Linked DNA regions of Homo sapiens: region 1 is linked to region 2. The links are contacts of gene promoters, found by promoter capture Hi-C in blood cells and fetal thymus (Javierre and others, 2016). All regions are on one chromosome and are shown on one strand. The core of a region is centred on a gene start or on the middle of the fragment in contact, and the rest is flanking DNA. Distances in the headings are between cores, read along the strand shown. Region 1 overlaps HTR3B (5-hydroxytryptamine receptor 3B). Region 2 holds the start of HTR3A (5-hydroxytryptamine receptor 3A).

Region 1 (5,007 bases), core at 253-2,752, 42 kb before region 2:
TGGATTTTCTTTTTGCCTTGCAGGATGCAGAGAATCAAATATTAAAGACAAGTGTATGGTACCAAGAGGTAAATAATTATGTTTTCTTCTAAATATATTGCACTCCTGATCTGGATCTGCTGCAAAATATAGTTATTTAAGAAATAGGTATTATCTTTGTATTTATAGTTTCTTAGATCTGCAGCAGACCTAATGTATTATAATTCATTTAAGATGTATGGCCCTGGTTTCTGGTTGGGACTACCATCTTTAGGATTCAGATGGGAAGTCCTTTCTCCTAACAGGTAGAACCAAGAGGCTGATAAATTGGATTATTAATCCAAATGCCTCTTTAGTTCTTTAGCGAAGTAGATATTGCCCCATTTTGATAAGTTTTCTTTTTGGCTACTACTAACAGGTCTGGAATGATGAATTTTTATCCTGGAACTCCAGCATGTTTGATGAGATTAGAGAGATCTCCCTACCTCTAAGTGCCATCTGGGCCCCCGATATCATCATCAATGAGTTGTAAGTGTGCCAGTGTGTATTTCTGTGGGGTTTAGACTGCTTGGTATAGTCGGGCCAGTTGCTGCTTACTTTCAGTCAGTGTTGCTCATTTTTGCTTCTCAAGTTGAAGGGGAGCATATTGTTGGGAGTATTCAGGTTAGAAGTGCCATGTGTTGACATTATTTAAGATACAGATCTGGTTACTAATGTTGAGGTTACTCATTATGTCTGTGTTGTTATAGCAGCAAATGAGTTAACTTACGAGGCTGTCACTGAAAAGCTCATCTTTGCCAGGGTGAATCATCTCATGGAAAATGCGATTCTGTTTTGCAGGGCTAGGCTGGTCCTGGACCTCATGGTCACTACCATCTCCTAATCAGCCTATGTTTTGAAATGACCAACATCCTCTCTGTGACAACAAGTTCTCTTGTGTTTCATATAGTGTGGACATTGAAAGATACCCTGACCTTCCCTATGTTTATGTGAACTCATCTGGGACCATTGAGAACTATAAGCCCATCCAGGTGGTCTCTGCGTGCAGTTTAGAGACATATGCTTTTCCATTTGATGTCCAGAATTGCAGCCTGACCTTCAAGAGCATTCTGCATACAGGTAAACCATGAGAGATACCCATTAATGCTAGGTTGGTGCACATAGGTGAAATGATATTATACTATCCTTCAGGTCTATTTTATTCTTGCAGATAATTGGCTATTTAAAAATTGGAATCTCTTCTTGCGGTTTTTTGGCTCCTGCTGTAATCCAGACCAAGTATGATGCTGTAGGCCCCCATAGTTGTTTTGGAAACAGTGTTAGGCCTCTACTGCCATGGATAATATTATAGAAATCGCAGGCAAGCTCCATCATTCTACAGAGAGTGTATTCCAAGCCATAAATTCACAGTTGTTGTTTTTTTATGACTAGAAAGATTTTATTCCACATCCCTACCCCCTAATTCAAATAAGGCCAAGGAGACTGTGCCTATGGGGGCAGGAGAACGAGGAAGGATTCGAATTGGGAGCTGGAAAAGTGGGTGGATGTTGGCATCTCTTTCTCTCTGGGAAAGTCAATTGTTTGTGTTGTTTGCAGTGGAAGACGTAGACCTGGCCTTTCTGAGGAGCCCAGAAGACATTCAGCATGACAAAAAGGCGTTTTTGAATGACAGTGAGTGGGAACTTCTATCTGTGTCCTCCACATACAGCATCCTGCAGAGCAGCGCTGGAGGATTTGCACAGATTCAGTTTAATGTAGGTTCTTTACTACCTGTCCCCGTTGCCCGCTTCTCCCCAGCCTTTGGCCTTCTCTCTTGGGCCAAGGAATTTCTGCTCTATTGCATGTTCTCATTCATTATCACCCAAGAACAGGGACTTCAGCGGGCTCTGAGCATCCACCTGCATTCCAGCATTTCACAGAGCAGAGGTTCAGTGGGAGATGCTGGGCCCCTCCAGAAGATAACAGACACCAGAGGCCTGGTATTCAGACACCAGAGGCCTGAAGCATGCCCTGCAGCAGGAATCCTCCAATCTTTCCACACACACTTACATTATGGCTTCTAATTGCTACTCAGAAAAAACACAGACAAACCCACACACAACAACAACAAATTGGGAAGACTTTCTCATCAACATTATTGTCCTATTTTTTTTTTATTGAGTAAATTATCAACTAATTCCAGATGCAGATGCATAATACGATAATATTATTAACTTGAATATCTTAAGGGATTAGCCAATAAGACCCACAGAGACCACTGGTAGCTTCTGGATCAGAGGGAACAATTAACCCCCTCAAAATTATGATGGGAACCCACACTCCTCCGATGCAGCCCTTGGCTGCATTGTTCATAGGGAAATTTGTCCGGCATGAAACTAGGGGATGGTGGGGTACAGGACAGTGAAGCCCGCTGATTTGTACTCCAGAGGCAGCCATTGTCCCATCTTTGGCCCCCTGGGAAACTGTTTTGACACATGGTCTGCAACAATTTCACACAACTGGTAAACTACATCATTAGTATTCAGCAGTGCATTCTTCTTTTCTGCAAAAAGTCAGCTAGTGGTGGTGGTAGTGAGGGAATGGTGGTCCTTCATGCCAAGTAATGGATTCAGTTGAAAAATAGAAACCACAGGCAGGTCAGGACTGCACACAAGATGAATTATCCTAAAAATATACCTTTGGAATAAGAAGGAAAACTTAGACTAGACTAAGGTGCTCTGGTACAATGGATATGCTAAGGGGAGGTGAAGAAATAAACTATCATTCGCTGAGTGCGGTGGCTCATGCCTGTAATCCCAGAACTCTGGGAGGCCAAGGCAGGCAGATCATTTGAGGTCAGGAGTTCGAGACTAGTCTGGCCAACATGGCAAAACCCCATCTTTACTAAAAATACAAAAACTTGCTGGGTGTAGTGGTGTGTGCATGAGAATCGCTTGAAGCCGGGAGGTGGAGGTTGCAGTGAGCCAAGATCATACCACTGCGCTCCAGCCTGGGTGACACAGGGAGACTCTGTCAAAAGAAAAGAAAGGAAGGAAGGAAGGATGGAAGAAGAAAGAAGGAAAGAAAGAAAAAAAGAAAGAAAGAAAGAAGGAAAGAAAGAAAGAAAAAAGAAAGAAGGAAAGAAAGAAAGAAAAAAGAAAGAAAGAAAGAAACTATTATTGAGGTTACAGGTATCCCTTAATTGGTTAAAGGTGTATACAGCTTTCCAGCAAAGCTCTTGTTAAATCTGGGCCTCTTAGACACAGTTGTGGTTTGAACCTGACTAATGTATAATGCTGGCTAGTATAATCGCAACTCATACCCTCCTGATGGTGGGCTTTGGGCTCTTGCCTAGAATCCTGCTTGGTTTTAAGCAAAGCTTGCATTGTGGCCTGTTTGTCCACTTTTCTTGTAAGGAAAAGGGAAGGAAAGCAAGCAAGCTTTTTTTTTTTTTAAATTTCAATGAGTTTCTTGGCTAGGAGTAAACACCTCATTAATTTTAAAGATATCAGCCCACAAACATTATTAATGCAGCCCGAATAATGGAGAGCATTAAAGGGAAATGTGAAGGAGTAGCACATGCAAGGTGGAACATAGTCACCTACCAAGTGCTCCTGAGAACACTGCACACACCATTACCTACACTGCACGGAGGAGACAAACACAGGAAAGAGATGGGGCAGGTAAACAAGGGCGTGTGCTTGCATACACAGGCACACATGTGCACACACACACACACACACACTCTCTCTCTCTCCATAGAGCAGCTATTATTTGTAGTTACATGTCACTTTCCTTCACCCTAAATGTTAATTCGTCAACAGCAGCTGAAGGTTTTCTATATACCATCTCCATTTTAATTATGATGAACAGAGACAGAAGATTGTCTAATGGAGGGGAGGCTTCCCTGGATCTCAGAGCCATGGTCCAGTTCCTCTGCTCTCCTCACTGCCATGCTTCCCCCCGGGTACGTTTTGAAGTGGAAGTGTGCTGGAGGCAGGTGCAATTTGATTTCATGCTCTTGGAACTTTTCCATGGGTCCTTTTGCCCCGGGGGTGGACGTGGGTTATCTAGCAGGGCTGGCCTCTGCCCTGGTCCTCAGGAGCAGAGTAGGGAGAGAATCCTGAGTAGAGTCACAGATCATATTTGGTGGGACAGGAGGCCAGACTCAGGAGCAATTCTGCAGCTTTAGAAAGACTAAAAGTGGATTCAGTGACGATCACAGTTTTCTGCCTCCCAACCTCGCTCAGCCTCCATGCATTTCTGCTCTGTGCACAGAGCCTAGGCTCATTCTCTTACTCCATACCAGACATCCCACTCTGAATTTAGCAACCAAGGCACCTGGCTTTCCTTCAACAGCCCTTGGCCAGTGATGTGAAATTCAGAGCCTGATTCTATTATGCCAACACTGGGCCTGCCAGGGTCCTGACAGCAAAGGACCATCTCCTCTTAATCTACTCGCCGGCTGTGTCTCAGTCCAGGCTGCCCAGCGGGAGGTTGGGGACGGGTAGGGAAGTCAGGAGAAGCAATAATCTATTCTAAATTCATCCTTGCCCTTGGCCTGAGGTACACTGCTGCCATTTATACTAAATCAAGTGCTCCGGATGCCCCATGAGTTTCAGCTAATGTGCAATCATAGCTGCCGACTCTGGGACACAAATTGTTTATCAGAGGACACCACGGATACTTTGGAGTCAGGCTACATTCCACAGGGGGCCCAGAGCATAGGCACTTCTCCCTACAAAGATGTCTGTGTACAGCCTGGGACCCGGCCCAGCAGCCATGGGAGGGGAGGTTTCCTCCAATATATTATTGGAGGTGCTGGTTCCCAGAAACAGCAGGGTGAGAGCATTTGATTTTGCATGGCAGTGGTTTTTTTCTTTTTTTTCTTTAAAGAATGAGGGTAGAAGTGGGAGGAGGTAGGAATACAATTTAGGAACTCGTGTTGGATGGAAAAGGGTGGACAGCTGTGGAAACTAAACCGAGCCCAACCACAGATATCCTCACACCAAGTAAAGTGTTTATTCGGGCAGGAATTGGGGTGCGCAC
Region 2 (5,215 bases), core at 2,271-4,770:
CTCAGGCCTGTGGGTCCTGCAGTCTCGGAGCTTTTCATTACCCAGACTGGATCGCCGCCATCTGTGTGTCTGCCTCTATTCCTTGGGAGGAGCCTGGCCGTCTGCAGGCAGAGCTCACGAATCAAATTAGCCCAGGCTCTGCTTTTCCCTCATCCCCACCAGCCAAGGCGAGTTCATCAAGGCCTCGCACTAATTCTTATCTTATTTAAAAGGGGCAAAAGTGACTCCACAGTTTCATCTGAGGCAATTTACACCCCGCCACTGGCCACACGGCTCCAGCTTCCCCCTGTCTGTTGTGCCATCAAATCCATTAATAGGACATTTCTTCAGGGGAAACTTGATTGCCGCTCCATCAGAAAGGCACACAGGCAATACATCTCCATCCGAGGCCATGGCCTGCCCGGCTCCCTCTAATCCTGTTACCTAAGGAGCTAATTCTCTAATGCACGCACTGTGCAGAGGACATCCTCTTTCCTTCCTAACACAATTGGACAGTCCCAGAGGATTCCAGGAGCTCAATGCAGAAATGAAGGCTTGGGGCCGATGGGACAGGATCTCCTAGATTTCTCAGGACCTCTGGAGGGGTTGTAACACATGCTCATGGCTGGCACCCCACTCCGCCTTGCCGAGAGCCTGCTTTCTAGAGTACTACACTGGGAAGGGGTGAGCCACACCCAGACCACCCTGGCTTCATAGTTCAGCCACCTCCTGCTTCTGCTTCATCCTTCCTCCGCCTCCTCCTTCTCTTTCTTTTCTCCTTCCATTTTCCTCTCTTTTTTCTCCCTTTCTTCTTTGCCTTTTCCGCCGATCTTCCTTTTCCTCCTCAGTTTCTTTCCTAACTTTCTTCCTGTCTGGTCTTCTTTTTCTTCTTGTTCCTCTTATTTTTTACTTCTCCCCTCTTCTCCTTCTCCAGATCCCCACAACTGTGAAAATATTGTTTTACCTTTCACTTTTTTTGTGCTCCATTCCCTCCCGCTTTGGTGCTGTCCTTTCAGAACAAGTTCAATTTCTAATGCTTCTTCCCAGCTGTCTCCAAATGGTTCAGCTCTGTGGGAGGAATGGGCCCCAGGCCATACCAGCCTAGGTGTGGAGCAAGAGGTAGGGAGGCCCTCGTGGATATACACAAACACCCCAAATACAAAATGGAGCATTGTGGTAGTGGTTAGGTTGTGTCAGGGGAGCAATTAAGTTCTATTCGCTCTTCAATGAGGAAATGATTATAATGGCAACCCCAAATGGGTTTGTTACTGCTAAAGGCCAAACCCTAGCTTATGGCTGTATGAAGGGACCCCATCAACAAATGGCATAATGCTCTATGCAGATTTCATAATGCACATAAACAGGAGGAGAAAGTCGTCTAGAAATTTTCAGATTTCTAAGTGCTAATGGCCACTTAGACGTCAGTGGGAGCTTAAATACTTTGTTGGCCAGGCACAGTGGCTCATGCCTGTAATCCCAGCACTCTGGGAGGCCGAGGCGGGCAGATTGCTTGAGCCCAGGAATTTGAGACCAGCCTGGGCAACATGGCAAAACCCTGTCTCTACTAAAAATACAAAAATTAGCCAGGCATGATAGCATGCCCCTGTAGTCTCAGCTACTTGGGAGGCTGAGGTGGAGGGATCACCTAAGCCAGGGAGATTGAGGTTGCAGTGAGCTGTGATCATGCTACTGCACTCTAGCCTGGGTGATGGAGTGAGATCCTGTTTCAAAAAAAAAAAAAAAAGAAAAAAGAATCTTTGTTGGGCTTGAAGATGCATTTAGGAATCTATAGTGTTCTGCTTGGGCCCCATTCAAGACCTCAGCCTGGTGGCCTAGGAGGCAGCCTGGTTCTTCTTGCCTTGCTTTATCCTGCTGTCAAACCTCAGGTCTGAGGACATTCATTCTGGAATTCTGGGGAGGTCTGGCTCTATAAATTCTCTAAAAGTTTGGGGCCCTCTTTCTATTCACTGCCCTCATATCCATTCCCCTGAGGGAAATGCTTGGAGCTAATTGTCCATGTTTTTCTGGATTGTGCAGTGATGAAGCACATGACTTAAGAGAAGAGTAGCCCAGGCTCCCTGAACTTGACTGCACGTTGCAGAACCACACCCCGCTAACGGCCACAGGAAAGGACCCCAATGGTGAATGGTATAATGCTTTATGCAGATTTCATAATGCACAGGAATAAGAACTGAAAGGATGCAGCCCTGACCAAGGTAGTTTCTTTCTTTTTTTCTTTCTTTTTAACTTACCTACAATTCAGAAAATTCCTCCTTACTGCAGGGTTCCTAGCCTATTCCACACTTAGAGTCAAGTGGAAAATAAATTAAAAAGGAAGAAAATGTTTTGTTGTTGATACTTAACTTGATTGGTACGGGGACATCTACCCAAATGGTGAGCTAGGGTAGGACTCCTTCAAATAAAAATGCACAGTAATTCTTCTTGCAGGCAACTTTAGGGGTACACAGCTGAGGCCTGAGGGATAGATACTTGTCTATTTAACTTGCAATGAAGAAAGAAACACTTCTTTCAAGAAAGACGCTTCCATTTAAGAGGAAGGTATTGAAAATGCTTCCGAGGCCAGGTGTGATTGCTCATGCCTCTAGTCCCTTTGGGGGACTACCAAAAATACAAAAATTAGCCAGGCATGGCTCGCATTTGTAGTCCCAGCTCTTCAAGAGGCTGAGATGGGAGGATCAGCTGAGATGGGGGAGGTTGGGGCTGCAGTGAGCAGTGATTGCGCCACTGCACTCTAGCCTGGGTGACAGAGCGAGACTCTGTCTCAAAAAAAAAAAAAAAAAGAAAGAAAGAAAAGAAAAGAAATGCTTACGAAATGATATCAAGCAAAAAAAGAGGGCACAAAATTATATGTATGTGATATTTACTTCATTGTATACACATTACTGAAGAAAATTATGGAAGAATATATACCAAAACGTTAAGAGTGGCTGTCTCTGAGTCATAAGTTTACAGATGATTTTAATTTTTCTTCATATTTTTCTACAAAGTGCATGTATTATTATTATTTTTACTATATGTATTTATTATGTATGGCAAGAATGCATGAAATAAATATGTATAGTAAAAGTTTATTTTTATTATATATTTTATTATTTTTAATATATATTTTACTATTTAAGTATAACTAATTAGATGAGGACAAAAGGGCAGACCTGTGGTGACTCCAGTTACCCTTCCCGTAACTACAGAGGTGCCCAGTCACCTGCTTGGTTATGTCACCCTGGGGAGTAAAAGAATGGTCTTCCTGCTCCTGCCTGACTCACCCTATCCTGCCCCAGCCCAGTGCCACAGAAACATACTTGCCAAGGGACATCAATGAAAGCAGCAGCGTGGTGCACCTCCCAGGGGTCAGGCTGCACCCTTGTCTCATGGGCTTCTGCAGCCCCTGTCCCCACCTAAGTTACTCCTTGGGGAAACATGGCCAAGCCCCCTGGCTGAATGGGTGGACTGAGCTCCCACAGCATGACATCAGCTAGGGCGGGCTCCCCTCTCAGCTGTCCCCTCCCCTTTCCTCCCGCCTGAAACATGATCCAGCTGAAGGACTGATTGCAGGAAAACTTGGCAGCTCCCCAACCTTGGTGGCCCAGGGAGTGTGAGGCTGCAGCCTCAGAAGGTGTGAGCAGTGGCCACGAGAGGCAGGCTGGCTGGGACATGAGGTTGGCAGAGGGCAGGCAAGCTGGCCCTTGGTGGGCCTCGTCCTGAGCACTCGGAGGCACTCCTATGCTTGGAAAGCTCGCTATGCTGCTGTGGGTCCAGCAGGCGCTGCTCGCCTTGCTCCTCCCCACACTCCTGGCACAGGGAGAAGGTAAGCAGACTTCGGGAAGCAGCAGGACTTGGCTGACCATCTGCTGAGGTGGGGCAGGGGATGCTTCAGTCCTCCGAGGGCTGTGGAGAGGAGGGTGGGGAACAGTGCAGCTGCAGGAAGGTCAGCTATCTTACCACCTATGAGCATGACAGCATTTGAGGCATCATGGTTAAGCTAGAGAGAGTTAGGAATGTTGAGTCCTGGGGTGGGGCAAGAGCGGAGCTTGCAAAGAAGGGAGCAGAGAAGTAGCCTGGCGTATCAGAAATAAAAAGACAGGCACCAGGAGGGGGCTCCTCTCCTTTTTGTCCTTTCCCTAAACTATTTGAATGAAAGCTGCAAGGGACCTTAGAACTCATTGGGTCCACCCTTGCCTGTTATAAATGGGAATGCTGTGGCCCAGAGAGTGGGGAGCGGATAATTCATTCAAGGTCACACAGCTTGTTAGCAGCAGAGTGGGGACCAGAACTAGTCTAGTCCTCTTTCCTCAGCTTCACTGGTTTTGTTGCATGAGTTCGTTCTCTGGGCCTGCGGTTCCCCAAGTTCCTTTCCAGGACTAAACTCCAGTAACGCCCAATTTCTCTCCACATTCGCTACACCCATCTTCTCCTGACTCCCTTGAATGTAGGGTGTTTTAGCCACAAAGGGACCGGCTTCCTTTTGCTGCAGACCATGTTCATTCCCCTCTAGGAGGTTTCTCTCCCTACAGAGCTGGGGTGGAGCATACTGGGGCACAATTAGAGGAAGCCATCCAGGGGTTGGACAGACGTGAAGAGCTCTGGGTAAGATGTCCTTCCTCCCGGGAGCGGTCGTTTGGGAGTGCTCCGTGGGTTAAGCAAACGCAAGCTGTAAGTGATGACTGTGGTCGAGGGCTTCCTTGACTGAGAAGAAACTCTGTCCCTCCTAGCAATGGTCCTTTGCCCCGGGCCTGCTGGGATGAGTTCAGTGCTCTCCAAGCTGGTCAGGATCCCAGTCAATAGGACCCAGGCTCTTGCTGGTGTAGTAAAGACGCACACGGGTCTGCGTTTGAATCTCAGTTCCTCCACTTGCAGAGCAAGGTGCTCACCTTTCTGGTGCTTGGGGATCCTTGTGTGCAAATAGCCACTCTGGTGGACTGTTCTAAAGTTAAATGAAGAATATGTTTATTGATGTTATTCCAAAGGAGACACTTAAAAAATAGTTTGTGTGTGTGTGTGTGTGTGTGTGTGTGTGTGTGTGTGTGTGTTCTCTCTGCTCTTCTCTGTCCTTCTGAGGGAAGCCAGTAGCTTATCAGGGAAAAGGGGGTGAAAGGAGGGGGAATCTGCAGGAGTGATTTGTTGTACAGGTTGCACACTAGATGAGAGAAGACACAGTCTTGTTTAGCAAAAGCCAGGCCTTGCCAGCACCTGGTTAGTGAAAGACCCTGGCTACCTG

Evidence for each region. Contacts are between HindIII fragments. The CHiCAGO score rates a contact against its expected background, and 5 or more counts as called.
Region 1: a contact is called between a fragment that was not itself captured here and the fragment with the promoter of HTR3A in region 2, in 1 of 17 cell types (total B cells). The highest score is 5.4, in total B cells.

The regions. Positions count from the first base shown.
Region 1 is chr11:113,931,361-113,936,367 of GRCh38, forward strand. HTR3B (5-hydroxytryptamine receptor 3B) reads left to right here. Exons shown (of 9, transcript NM_006028.5): 3 at 24-68; 4 at 398-507; 5 at 929-1,098; 6 at 1,576-1,733. Among named protein-coding and RNA genes, the nearest start is that of HTR3B, 29 kb to the left of the region's middle. The HindIII fragment of the contact is 3,666 bases long and covers 1-3,335 here.
Region 2 is chr11:113,971,588-113,976,802 of GRCh38, forward strand. HTR3A (5-hydroxytryptamine receptor 3A) reads left to right here and starts at 3,521. Exons shown (of 9, transcript NM_000869.6): 1 at 3,521-3,805. The coding sequence starts at 3,739. RefSeq lists enhancers at 3,084-3,745, 3,746-4,405. The HindIII fragment of the contact is 9,568 bases long and covers 1-5,215 here.